Linked DNA regions of Homo sapiens: region 2 is linked to region 1. Evidence: promoter capture Hi-C in human tissues and cell types (Jung and others, 2019). All regions are on one chromosome and are shown on one strand. Each heading gives the region's core, a stretch centred on a gene start or on the middle of the fragment in contact. The rest is flanking DNA. Distances are from core to core; before and after follow the strand shown. Region 1 holds the start of THEM5 (thioesterase superfamily member 5). Region 2 holds the start of CGN (cingulin).

The links. The method cuts DNA at HindIII sites, captures the fragments that hold promoters and counts their contacts. A contact is called where the count stands out against the background at its distance.
Region 2: the fragment with the promoter of CGN here is called in contact with the fragment with the promoter of THEM5 in region 1 in 1 of the 25 tissues and cell types used here (mesenchymal stem cells).

What each region holds. Positions count from the first base shown.
Region 1 is chr1:151,850,766-151,856,982 of GRCh38, forward strand. It overlaps THEM5 (thioesterase superfamily member 5), which reads right to left and starts at 2,947. Exons shown (of 6, transcript NM_182578.4): 1 at 2,678-2,947; 2 at 1,493-1,694; 3 at 288-426. The coding sequence starts at 2,800. C2CD4D-AS1 (C2CD4D and THEM5 antisense RNA 1) reads left to right here. Exons shown (of 4, transcript NR_152846.1): 4 at 1-770. The HindIII fragment of the contact is 11,981 bases long and covers 1-6,217 here.
Region 2 is chr1:151,507,863-151,514,713 of GRCh38, forward strand. CGN (cingulin) reads left to right here and starts at 3,525. Exons shown (of 21, transcript NM_020770.3): 1 at 3,525-3,653. RefSeq lists enhancers at 2,602-3,178, 3,179-3,754, 3,906-4,045, 4,908-5,484, 5,485-6,060 and a silencer at 3,176-3,575. The HindIII fragment of the contact is 12,501 bases long and covers 1-6,851 here.

The sequences.
Region 1 (6,217 bases), core at 1,697-4,196:
GCCCTCTTCCAAGTGTACCACATTCTTCTCAAAGTGGCCTCTCAGGTCTTTTGTCCAGAAAATTTTGAGACTTTGATGAGAAGCCCATATCTGCACACTGGGGATTAGGCCAGATAACCCTGTGTGTCCTTCCAGGCCTGGTATTGTGAGGCTGAAGCCTAGTGCCCCACACTCCCTTCCTCACCCCTTAGAGAAAGATAGAGACTCCAGGGCCAGCCTGGTGGGTGCTGAACCTGCCCTGCTGAGCCAAGCCCAGGAGGCAGCCAAGGTCCTACCAGTGACCTTACCCTGGGGGCCCCTCCAGGTAGGAGCCTGGTTGGAAAAGACAGACCGACTTCTTCTGGGTTGGCTGGAAAAAGATGACATACTCAAAGCCTTGTCCTTCCACTTGGATGCACCTGGTGAAGATGCGACAGTCACCTTTGTCTGGGGAGAGATAGGCAGTGTTGCAGCCGGAGAAGGGAGGGTATGGTCAGGATGCAGCACCATTTGGTTGAGTCTTGCCTCTGGTACAAGATTAAGGAGAGAAAACCAGAGGACACCAGGTCCACCCCCAGGGAGCCTTCCCTCTGGGAGCAGAGGCACAGTTGCTGTCCTCACAGAGCCTTTCTGTCTAGGGCAGAAACATGCAGGAAGTGCCCTGGCTGAGAATGGAGATAGGATCAGGGCCAGGGCAAGACTTTAAGAGACCATAAGCATTGAAAATTGAAAATGTAATTACTCATGTAACTCACATATAATTCAAAAGAATAATAGTAAACAGTAAAATAAGAGCAGAAAAGTCCATCAAAGTTCTGATTTTTTTTTTCCAAGACAGCTACCACTACTACATCCTTTTTTGGAAGTATCAAATTCTTTGAAAAAAAATTATGTTGGTATTCCTGCTTTGTTTGTGCCATAAACCCAAGGGTAGTCTGTCCCCTGTACCACTCCTTCATCACTAGGCAGGAAGACAACATATATGAGTGAGAGAGACAGGGAGATACACATGCGTGCACACACGAGTGCACACACACACACAAGAAGGTGGAAGCTCTATCATTAGGATCCATTAGGATCATTAGGTGTTTCAGGAGTGCTGCTCCAGACCCCGCACAGCAGGGATGATGTGCAGGGCCTCAGTGGAAGGGGTGTGGGGTCCAAGGGCTTTCATGGGGTTGGGGCGGAAGGCTTGGGATGAGGCTTGATAGTTAGGGAGGGGCAGTCAGTGAGAAGTCGGGGCAGGAGCTGGGCTGGCTGTCCTCCAGTGGGGACATGCTTGGCTGGGAGCGAAGGTGGGCCCACCAGGGTGTGCTGCTTCAGATGGGAGGAGGGGAGCTGGAGACCTGAGAGGACACCCGCCGCCTGTTGCCTGGGGCTGCAGCATCAGGGGTGGAGTTGGACAGCAGGAAGAACTCGCTGAGAACTGGAAGGCGGTCTGTGAAGTTGCTTCTCAGTCTTAGAACACAGGGAAGGGCGGCTGGGGTGTGTGTACTCATGGTCCTGTCCTTACCTGAGGAAACTGCCAGTCCAGATGGGAGCTTGAGTCCCCGGATGTGGTCTCTGTTGGACTTGAAGGAGGGCAGCTTGATCCAGCCGCTAGACTTAGTCTTCTCCAGAAATTCTTGGTACAGGCTCAGCATGTCCGAACACCAGCTGGCATTGGGAAGAGCATAATCCTTCAAGTCTGTCTTCTCTGGCAAGAATCTTGAGAACTGGGCAGGAAAAATCAGAATGACTAGACAGCATCCTGGAGGGGGGCTGCTGCCTGGGCTCGGGACCTCTAAACAGCTGTTCCTGGGTGCTGGGGCTTCTCAATCCCTTCTGCCAGAGTATCGATCCAAGGGAAAGGGCCCATATTCCTTGCAGGGGGGCTGCGGACCCCTATGGGTGACGGGGCATAAGGATGCTAAAGAGCAAGGGAAGGGCGGGCAGGGAGTGGGGCCAGAGATGATGGGCATGCTGCTCGATGTGGTGCCTTACCCTTGTTCTGCTTAAAACATGTGAGCAGTTCTTTAAAGTTGACAACTGCTCATATTAGCCTCACTGTACAGATGGGGAAACTGAGGGAATACGGCCAAGGTTGCCAAGCATGTGACTGTGAGAGCTGGTGGTCGCACTAGATGCTGTCTCCTCTGCAGGGCAGGGTCACAGTTGTTGAGGACCATTCTAGCAACCCCCACCTCAGGGGCTACTCCAGCTCTGCCCACTGCTGTGGGCCTGCCTGGGCAGGGTGGCTCCTTTGAAACACATTTGGGCCCCCACAGAGGTGTGGTGCCATGGCTGGGGCACAGACTATGTGCCCATCTGTGTGACGTAAGGAAGTCCTCTGTAGCGTCACCTGCTCATACACCAGTCACAACTGTAGACAGCATGTGAGCTGCTTGCCAATGCCACAGATGGGGTCCTCTGTCTGGGGATACCCCAGCTTTGCTGCAGTAGTCTGAGTCCCACAGGAGGAAAGTCATTTGTTGGTGGCCACACAAGACACAGAGCCAGATGCAGGTCTCCTGGTAGTTTTAGTTTTGAATGGGGGCAACTTGGTATCCCAGAGCACTTTCTCTTTGCCAAATCAAATAGCTCCTCCGAACACTGCCCACCTGCCCTGGCCATGGGCTGGGAAGAGGAGATTTGGGGTGCTCCTTAAGCCCTAGGCTCCTGGGAAAACACTGCCCATCTGGCTGAGCTGGGAACTCACCATGGAGTCTGTGGAGGATCCAAATGCTGAGGCAGGGTTGAGTCTGGGCAGGATACGGGGGGCCTCAAGAAGGCCTCTGTGGTGGCCAAGTCTTGCTGCCACCTGGAAGCATCTCCTTATCATGGCCAAGTGCAAGGATCCAGCCCTGCTTGGATGGAGGGTCTTGGCTGACTCCCAAGGAGTGCTTTCAGCTGCACTTGGGGCCGCTTCTCTCCCTTCTGTTGCAGGCTTTCTTTCAGAGAGCTAGGCGAGGCTGGGCTGGTGTGCTGCAACACCCACAGATGCTCGGCGCCTTTAGCTGGTCTAGGAGCCCCACCCAGTGCTTGGGGAGGGACAGATGCTGCTTGGGCATGAAAAGGCAGCAGGACTGGCTTGAGTTGCAAAAGGAGTAAACAAGTACATAAACAAATAGTATGGGGTATATAGAGCCTTGGAGAGCTGCCTGGGGGTTCTGAGGGAGAATCCAAGAATATTTCCAGAAGGATAAGGGAAGCCTGTCCCTTGATTGGAGGGTGCTGGTGGAGTGTTCTTGGTATGTGCTCTGCAGTGTATACCGGACTCTGAAAACTCTGGTATGATTTTGTGACTCAGAAAACCAACTCACAGGCCGGGTGCGGTGGCTCACGCCTGTAATCCCAGCACTTTGGGAGGCCGAGGCGGCGGATTACGAGGTTAGGAGATCGAGACCATCCTGGCTAACACGGTGAAACCCCGTCTCTACTAAAAAAAATACAAAAAATTAGCCGGGCGTGGTGGCGGGTGCCGGTAGTCCCAGCTACGCAGGGGGCTGAGGCAGGAGAATGGCGTGAACCTGGGAGGTGGAGCTTGCAGTGAGCTGAGATCTAGCCACCGCACTCCAGCCTGGGCGACTGAGCGAGACTCCGTCTCAAAAAAATAAAAATAAAAAAATAAAAAAAAAGAAAACCAACTCACAGCCTTAGACACCTCTTTTTTTTTTTTTTTTTTTTTTTTGGTGAGACGGAGTTTCAATCTTGTCGCCCAGGCTGGTGTGCAATGGCGTGATCTCGGCTCACTGCAACCTCCGCCTCCTGGGTTCAAGTGATTCTCCTGCCTCAGCCTCCTGAGTAGCTGGGATTACAGACACACACCACCACACCCAGCTAAATTTTGTATATTTTTTTTAGTAGAGATGGGGTTTTGCCATGTTAGCCAGGCTGGTCTTGAACTCCTGACCTCAGGTGACCTCCCAAAGTGCTGGGATTACAGGCGTGAGCCACCGCACCCGGCCAACACCTCTTCTTATATCCCGGACAAGGGTTAGCACAGGAGAGTTTCACCTGCTGGTCTCTGGCTGGGGATAGGAGTTGGAGGTGGGGGAGGGCTTGACAGGGAGGGCAGAAAATAATTTGGGAGGAAACAGCTTGGCAGGGATACTCTCATGTTTTGGGAACCCCGTGCCCAGGGAGTGGCTCATGTCAGCAGGCAGTGCTGGGAGTGAGGTGGGCGCGGCAGTGAGGCTTTGTTGAGTGGGAAGGGACACTCAGCCAACATCTGCAAGGCAGTGGGATTTGGTGGTGGTGTGTCTTCTATTGAATTTAAACTGCCAATTTTCAATTAAAAGTCTCAGTTTTAAATTGACTAAAATAAAAGCATGTTCTAAAGATCAGTCCTCGCGCAGTGGCTCAAGGCTGTAATCTCAGCATTTTGGGAGGCCGAGTGAGACCTTGTCTTAAAAAAAAAAAAATCAGAACTGTGCAAAGGTGGAATCATAACAGTGATGATGACGATAATAATAGTTGTGATGATTATGACATTTTGGCAGGTTCCAAAAGATGAAACTGATTTAATGCGGAAATTTAAAAGATTTGGTTCACCCTCTGTATTTGGTTGCCCTAGAAGAAGACTAGAATATAAATATTTCCCCTCACCTCCTGCAAAGGTTTGAATTAAACTTCCTCAAGGACTGGGGGAACCATTTTTTTTTGTTGTTGTTATTTTGTCAGAGTCTCACTCTTATTGCCCAGGAGTGCAGTGGCACCATCTCGGCTCACTGCAACCTCTGCCTCCCAGGCTCAAGCAATTCTCCTGCCTCAGCCTCCCAAGTAGCTGGGATTACAGGCGCTTGCTACTACGCCCGGCTAGTTTTTATATTTTTAGTAGAGACGGGGTTTCATCATGTTGGCCAGGCTGGTCTCAAACTCCTGGCCTTGGCTGATCTGCCTGCCTCAGCGTCCCAAAGTGCTGGGATTACAGGCATGAGGCACCACGCCCAGCTGGAAGTTTTTTTGGTTGATTCAGCCTCTGGGTCTAAGCAAAGATATTTGAGTTGGTTGCCATCCCCAGATAAGTGAGAATATCTGGCAGCACTCATTTTCAGCCCTGGGCCGCAGCCGTTGCTGTGAGGCAGAAATTAAAAAAAGATAGTAAGTACTACATTCATTCACTCCAAGAAAAGTAACAGACAAGGCTATAAGAAGGTCATAGTGACCTAGTCTGAGAAGTAAAAGCCAAGGCCCAGAATGTGGCAAGGCAAAGGTTAAAAAGAAAGGAAGAGCAAGTTTTTCTCTGCCTAGCAAGCTCACTTCAAAGACAATTATAAGATAATGCTCTTCGAGAAGTCGAAACCAAAGGAATAGGCTCCAGACATCCCCCGTCTGGAGCAAGGGTGAAGGAAAAAAAAAAAAGGACAAATGTCTGTCTGTATTTAGCCAGTTCTTGTTTTTTCTTTCCACGCAGCTACAAGGCCACCAGCTATGCAAAGCCACAAGTTATGCCAAGTCATCAGTTATGCTATAGATTATGTGACCTGTCATTATATGATTAACTGCCTGTTTTGCTTCTGTAAGCCTGCTTATAAAAATCCTGCTCAGTCTTTGTTCAATGCTCAGCTTTTTGGATGTGAATCCACTGAGCCAATGCCTACCTTAAAATAAACATCGTCCTGTTTTTCCATATCTGTCTCTCTGGTCCTGAGTTTACCACAATAGCTGTAGCTGGTACCCTGTGCCTGTGGCTTGCCCAGGCGTCCCCTGGCACTTGGCATCCCTTCATTCCCTGGGTCCATCCTTGATCTGGAAGGATGGACTTGAGAAGACAGGATAGAAAAGAAAAATCCTAGGAAGGATAGGTGAACTGGAGAGAAGTCAGAGGAAAGGTGAGTGGGGAGCAAGAGGGGATCCTCAGGCGGCCCTGACAGCTGGAAGCTGGTTCCAGCAAGGTGGCCCCAGGAGGAAAGAGCTGTCCTCCTAAGAAGAGTCAGTAGGGCCAGGCGCGGTGGCTCACGCCTATAATCCCAGCACTTTGGGAGGCCAAGGCGGGTGGATCACCTGAGGTTGGGAGATCAAGACTAGCCTGACCAACATGGAGAAACCTCATCTCTACTAAAAATACAGAATTAGCCGGGCATGGTGGCGCATGCCTGTAATCCTAGCTACTTGGGAGGCTGAGGCAGGAGAATCGTTTGAAGCCAGGAGGCGGATATTGTGGTGAGCTGAGATTGCGCCATTGCACTCCAGCCTGGGCAGCAAGAGTGAAACTCTGTCTCAGAAAATATAAAGAGTCAGTAGGTGGCTGGGTGCA
Region 2 (6,851 bases), core at 2,275-4,774, 340 kb before region 1:
CCACCGCGCCCGGCATCACATGCTTCTTTAAAATATCAGGTTCCAGAGTTAATTTATCATACTCTTCTTCTAGGTCCTCCTCAAATCCTTCCTGTCTCTTGTCCTTTCCATTTCAGCTAGTGGCATCACCTCATTTCCATTATTATTATTATTATTATTATTTCGAGACAGAGTTTCACTCTTGTTGCCCAGGCTGGAGTGCAATGGCACAATCTCGGCTCATTGAAACCTCAGCCTCCTGGGTTCAAGCGATTCTCCTGCCTCAGCCTCCCGAGTAGCTGGGATTACAAGCATGTACCACCATGCCCGGCTAATTTTTGTATTTTTAGTAGAGACAGGGTTTCACCATGTTGGCCAGGCTGGTCTCGAACTCCTGACCTCACGTGATCCGCCTGTCTTGGCCTCCCAAAATGCTGGGATTACAGGCATGAGCCACCGTGCCCGGCCTTAAACGGGTGATCTTTGAGAGAACAATTCAGTAGAGTTGCTAGTGGTATCAGTGAATCTTGGAGAATTCAGGAAAGAATTGCAGGAGAGGAATTTGGTTCCAAATCCACTTTTTTTTTTTTTTTTTTTTGAGATGGAGTCTCGCTCTGTCGCCCAGGCTGGAGTGCTGTGGCTAGATCTCAGCTCACTGCAAGCTCCGCCTCCTGGGTTCAGGCCATTCTCCTGCCTCAGCCTCCCAAGTAGCTGGGACTACAGGCGCCCACCACCACACCCAGCTAATTTTTTGTATTTTTAGTAGAGACGGGGTTTCACCATGTTAGCGAGGATGGCAAATCCACTTCTTTGATGAAACCTGCAATTTACCTAAAACTTTCTCTATTATCCCATTTCATAAAATAAAACTTCTCTCTTTAACATCTATCAGTGTTATTTCTTCTTTCTGGGTATTATATTTGCTATAAATTCTGTTTTTGCTGTATTTATAAACTGGCCAATTTTGCCATTTCTTTTTTGAAAAAATTTTATTATTATTATTTTTTATAAAGATGGGGTCTCACTGTGTTGCCCAGGCTGGTCTTGAATTCCTGGGTTCAAGCGATCCAACTCCAGGGCTCAAGCTATCCTCCTGTTTTGGCCTCCCAAAGTGCTGGGATTAGAGGCATGAGTCATCACGCCTGGCCCTGTAGCATTTCTTAAGGAGAGGGATCACCTGTCTTCTGAACTCTGGAAAAAGACCAGGGTGTCGCCTTTGTCACTTGTGCCTGGATGTACCTCTCAGACTGAGTGCTTCCTTGAAGAACAGATGACGAAGGCGGTGACTCAGAGGCTCCCACTTATCCTTGTAATTCGTGTTCATGGTGCTGGGTAACCACCCAAATTGGTATTTACTACAAATATACTAAGTATCCTAATTGCTAAGGTGTTATCTAGGGGAGTTTAGGCGCTTCCGCCTTTCCAATATCTGAGTCAATTTAATATCCCACATTAAAAAAAAAAATCTCCTTACAAACACTTGGTGGGGGCGAGCGTGGTGGCTCACTCCTGTAGTCCCAGTACTTTGAGAGGTCGAGGCAGGCGGTTCGCTTGAGTTCAGGAGTTCAAGACCAGCCTGGACAACATGGAAACCCCATCTCTACTAAAAATGCCAAAATTAGCCCGGTGTGGTGGTGGGCGCCTGAAGTTCCAGCCACTCAGGAGGCTGAGGTGGGAGGATCGCTTGAGCTTTGGAGGCTGAGGCTGCAGTAAGCAGAGATTGCACCACTGCACTCCAGCCCGGGTGACAGAGTGAGACTCCGTCTCAATGAAAAAAACAAAACTAAAGCAAAAACAAAAACAAAAAAACCCAAAACAGGCTGGGTGTGGTGGCTCACGCCTGTAATCCTAGCCCTTTGGGAGGCCAAGGTGGGCAGATCACTTAAGGACAGGAGTTCAAGACCAGCCTGGTGAAACCCTGTCTTTATTAAAAAATACAAAATATTAGCCGGAAATCAATTGAATCTGGGAGGCGGAGGTTGCAGTGAGCCGAGATTGCGCCACTGGACTTTAGCCTGGGCGATAGAGCAAGACTCCGTCTTAAAAAAAAAAAACAACAAAAAAAACCCAAACCAAAAACCATCCCATGGGAGTGTCTCTGAACCTATTCTGGTTCAGGAGGCTGCACAATAAAAGAAAAATAAGAAAAAATTTTTTAAAAAAAAGTCTTTTAAAAGCCACCCAGTGTTCAGGAGGTGCGCTCCTGGAAGGACATTTCCTCTTCTGTCCCCACCCCCACTACATGTTTTTTGCTGTTCCTCCCCAGGGAACAGGCCGGTTTGATGGCCCTAATCCTTATATACAGCTTGCTCTGGAATGCAGAGACTTTGCATCCCAGCTGAGGAGCTGGTAAGTGGACTTTACTCTGTAGGACCCACACCTAGCTTTTGAAGGCTTGGGGAGGGGCGGAAACCAGCTCCCGAGAATACACCGGAATCTGTGCTGCATCGAAGATTCCTCTTCTACTCCAATAGATACAGGGTAAATATTTGTTGTAACTAAATGAGAACAAAATCCGGAGCCCAGCAACGTAAACGAAGTCAATCTCTTTTTTACATATCTCAACGGTTAACAGCTAGGATGCCAGCTTTAATGTTGTTTTAACTGCAGCTGGTATGAGCGGTCCTGCAGTTTGCAGAGCCCCTAGTTTTTACTCTTTTCTAGGAACTGGGATCAGCATCCCTACTTTTTGAGAGGCTAACTCTGAGGTAAATTTACAACTGAGTCCCTTTCAGTTTAGAACGAAGGTCATTCCTATTTTGGTAAATTTGCGTCCCCGGTTTCCATTCATTCAGTCAACAAATATTTATTAAGCATGTAGTATGTACCAGTCCCTGTTGTAGGCGTTTGGGGTGAAGCAAGGCACAGAACAAGAGATCCTTGCTCTGGTGAAGCTTATCGTAGGACGGGAGGCAAAATGATGAAAATGATTTTTAAAATTATGTTATTAACTAGAAGGTGATAAATATTACATAGAAAAAGATGTCAGGCTGCAAAATGATTGCGGAGGCCACAAGATAAAAGAGAATCCAAGATCAGGGTTCTGGTTCGGGTCAGGGAAAAGGGAGACGAGCTGAGGTGCAGGAGGCTCTGACGTCGGGGGACAACGGAGATATTTTCTGCAGAAAGTGACGAAAGAGCATTCTGGTTCCTGCAGAGGTAGGTGAAGGACAGAAAGGGCCCTGGCCGGCGATTCCCTTGGAGTAAACGGGAGGCAGGAGGCTGTTTTCTAGCAGAGCCCAGAAGATGCTCTGGCCGACGGCTCCCGGGATCTTGGCCGGCGGTCACTCGCGACCATCCGCGACGCCCCCAAAATGGCCTCCGCGCCCCTCGCCGCCCCGCCCCGACGCTCCGCAGCCCGTGGGTCCACGTGACCTGGCCCGCCCTTCGCGGCTGGAGACCCCGGGTCCCGGTCCCCGCACCGGAGGCCCCGCCCCCTACGGGAAGCGGACCAACCGGAGCGGGGAAAGGCGGGGCGGGCACTGACGGCCCGCGGGGGTGGAGCTCCGCAGCGGAGTAACAGGTTGGTGGGAGGGAGAGAAAGGAGGGAGCTCCGAGGACGAGGGGGAGGGCCGGAGCTGCGCGTGCTGCTTTGCCCGAGCCCGAGCCCGAGCCCGAGCCCGAGCCCGAGCCCGAGCCCGAACGCAAGCCTGGGAGCGCGGAGCCCGGCTAGGGTGAGTGGACCCGGTGCGGGCCAGGGCACCCGAGAGGAAAGCGAGCCTTCAGGGGTACCTTTGAGGGGCAGGCATCGAGGCGGTGTGAGATGCCCCTCTCCAGGGCACCGGTGCCGAGTGGGAGACGGGAGGAGGGGAGATTGGGGCGGGGTGGGGTACTGATTAAGAGCCGACCCCTACCCTGAGGTGCCAGATGCAGGTGGCTAGGAAGGTGCCAGGCGAGGGGCACCTGGGGCGAAGGCTGTTCCCAGCGCATGAAAGCGTTTCAGCGCCAGATGTCTCTGGAGGTCAGACGCCAGCCCTAGGGGCAGAATTTCTCTTGGAGACAGCGGTGGCGCGGGGAAGGAGTTAGTTCCAGCTGAGTCGGGAACTGCTGCTGCCTGAGGTGCAGACTCGCCAGGGGAGGGCATCTGCAGGTGCTGCTCGCCTGAGGGTCTTTCCTGCGTCCTGCGGTCTCAGCTGGCCGTTGTCAGCACCCTGGTGGCTTTGAGATGACTCTGAGGTGTGGGATTTTTTCCCCAGCCCTTCACCTCCGGCCGAAGGCAGTTGCGAATCAGAGACACTGAGGGGCAGATGAGAGGGCACCCTCATCTCTTCACCAGGTGTACAACCATTAGGCTTTCACTTTGTGTCCTTTGCTTTCGTGCCAGGGAGAATCGTTCCTTCTTCCTCTTGAGAGAGAGAGAGAGTACTCCCCAAGAGAGGGATATGAGGAAGCAAAGAGCCCTGCCTGGTCCTGCAAAATATTGATAAATATTAATACTTATTTCTCAGGAGGCCCCTTTCTGGGGGCGGATGTCAAACCCTTTCTCCAAGTACCCACATATTTTTTCTGTGGTTCTAGATGGGGACCATTGGATGAGGTTTGGGAGCCCAACCAATTTCCTTGATGTCTGGAGGAATCCCCATTACTCCCTGAACGCCCTCCAGGCATCCCTGACTCCTGAACTGCGGTGGCTGTCAGAATGGCAGCAGGCACTATTGGGGCAGGAAATAGGCAGGACTCATCAGGAGACCACGAGACTAGGGAAATTACAACTCCAAATCCCCAGGACAGATGAAAGGTGCACCTTGGGGCCCAGACAAGACTGGAGGCAAATTTCTTTGCCTTAGGCAGGTAAAGGAACTAGAGTCAACCTTAGCTTGGCCCCTTTGAAGCCCTGCCTGAGGAAGGTTGTTGTAATTGGGAAATAATTAGCAACCGCTATGTTTGTAGATGGGCTGCCTACACATGCCTATGCATCTCTTCTTTCATCCTGGATGTTTGGGAGTCTGGGGGCTGGCTCTGGGGGACTGCTAATCCAGAGATTTGCCCGACTCTAAGAGGATTCTGGCTTCCTAGAACCCTTCCTGTGTTTCCCAGGCTGGCCTGCATGCCATTCCCCTTGTGGGAGGTGATGGGGGTGTAGGGCTCTTCTCTTTGTGCCAGGGAGGGGCGGACTGAGGACCAGGGAGGTGGCCAAAGCAAGTGTGGGATCAGGAATGCAACTTTGGGAACCTCAAAGGGAGGGGTGGAGGGAGACAAAGTCTCCCTGTCACATACTGGCCTGTCACCAGGTTCCTGTTCATCTGCTCCTCCTGCCTGTTCCCTCCCTGCCCTCTGTCCTCTCCTTCAGAGCTTTGGCTTTGCCATCAAGGCTGGAGAGCCCCTGCCTGTGGTCTTGCCCCTCTGCCTCCTCCGTGGTGTGGAATTTCTCTGGTCTGCTTTACAAGCTGCCAGTGTAGTTTCCCCGGCCCTCCCCTTCCCCTTGCCTCTCAAACCAGTCCAGCCAGTTTGCAGGGGCCCAGTTCCTCATTGTGTTTTTTTCCCTACTGGCCAAGCAGCTGTAGCCTGGCTCTCAGGTTTCTGCTCTTTCAGCGGACCTGGGCAGGAGTCCACTTGGGGGATTCTTTTTGGATCCACGGGGAACCTTCTTATCTCTAACTATGAGAAAAAGGGTGCCAAATCATCAAGGTCACTGAGCTGTCCTTTTCTATTTCGACCATTTGCTTTCCTTGTTTCCTCTGAGGGGATTCTAATCTCTATACCTCAAGTTCTCCCGTTTTCTAAATCTGCCAATTATTTAGCATCAAGCATATTGCCTGGCCCTATGTGAATCAGTCCTTCCTCCACACACCCGAAACCACCCCACCCCCACTTCCTGCCAGAAGTCCAGATACCCTGTCACTCCTAGTTGGAAACCAGATGCATATGGCTGGGCCAGAGGTGATGGAATTGGGGCAGGGCAGGCTAATGAGTAACTCAGGGAGAAGTGGCTGTCTGGTACAGGTGTAGAGTGTTCTCCCACTCCTTGCAGGCAGGAAAGGCAGAAGCAGACAGATGCACCTGAATCAACTTGTGGTCTGGTCTCTTCCTGGAGTACAGTTGGTGAGGAGAGCCCTGGACATGTGATAGGGGAGAGAAAAGTAGGGTCAGGCATTGGTGAGGGCGCAGGCCCTGGACTCCATGTTGCCTGGCCCTTGATCACTGTTTACCTGCCTGTCTCTGGGGCTTACGCAAGGCCTCAGAGCTGCCCTGCTGCCTTGGTCCCGCCCCACTGTCCTCTGTAACCAAAGGCGGGTAGGTTTCGGGTTTTCCATGTTGAATCATTTAGAGCCCTGCTTTCTGACCCACCCCAAAGATCCCTTCAGCCCTCCTGGCCCCTGATCCACATGTCCTTGGACTGAAGGTGATTGAGGTTAGGGAGTTAACCTAACCTGGGACCTGGGGGAGTGTTCAACACTGCCTCTGAATAATTTAGTGCTGTTGCTCAAGGGTCTGTGCCCTCTGCTGGGCCTAGGCTGGGAACTCCTTGACCTGGATCTGGAAGATCAGTAGATGTACTGACAGGGTAGACTGCATCATGAATAAATCATATGGCTTCTGAGAGCTGGCAATCTAGGCACTTCTGGTTCTAAGATCATGACTACATAGGGCAGCAAGTCTGGACCAGGAGGAGGTCCTGTTGCTAAGAGGTCCTGTTACTGAGGCAAAGTAGATTTGTCCTGGGCAAATCTCCCCACTGCTGTGCAAGTGGGCTTTAGTTCAGGATACAGCCTTTAACAAATATTTGTTGACATCTACCACGTGTCCAAACACCTGGGGACACAGTGGTTAGCTGCTAGCCATGGTCTTTGCCCTCCAGGAGCTTATTATCTCGTAGGGGAGACAGACAGGAAATAATTACTCCAATAAATGTATAAATATAAACTGGAGTA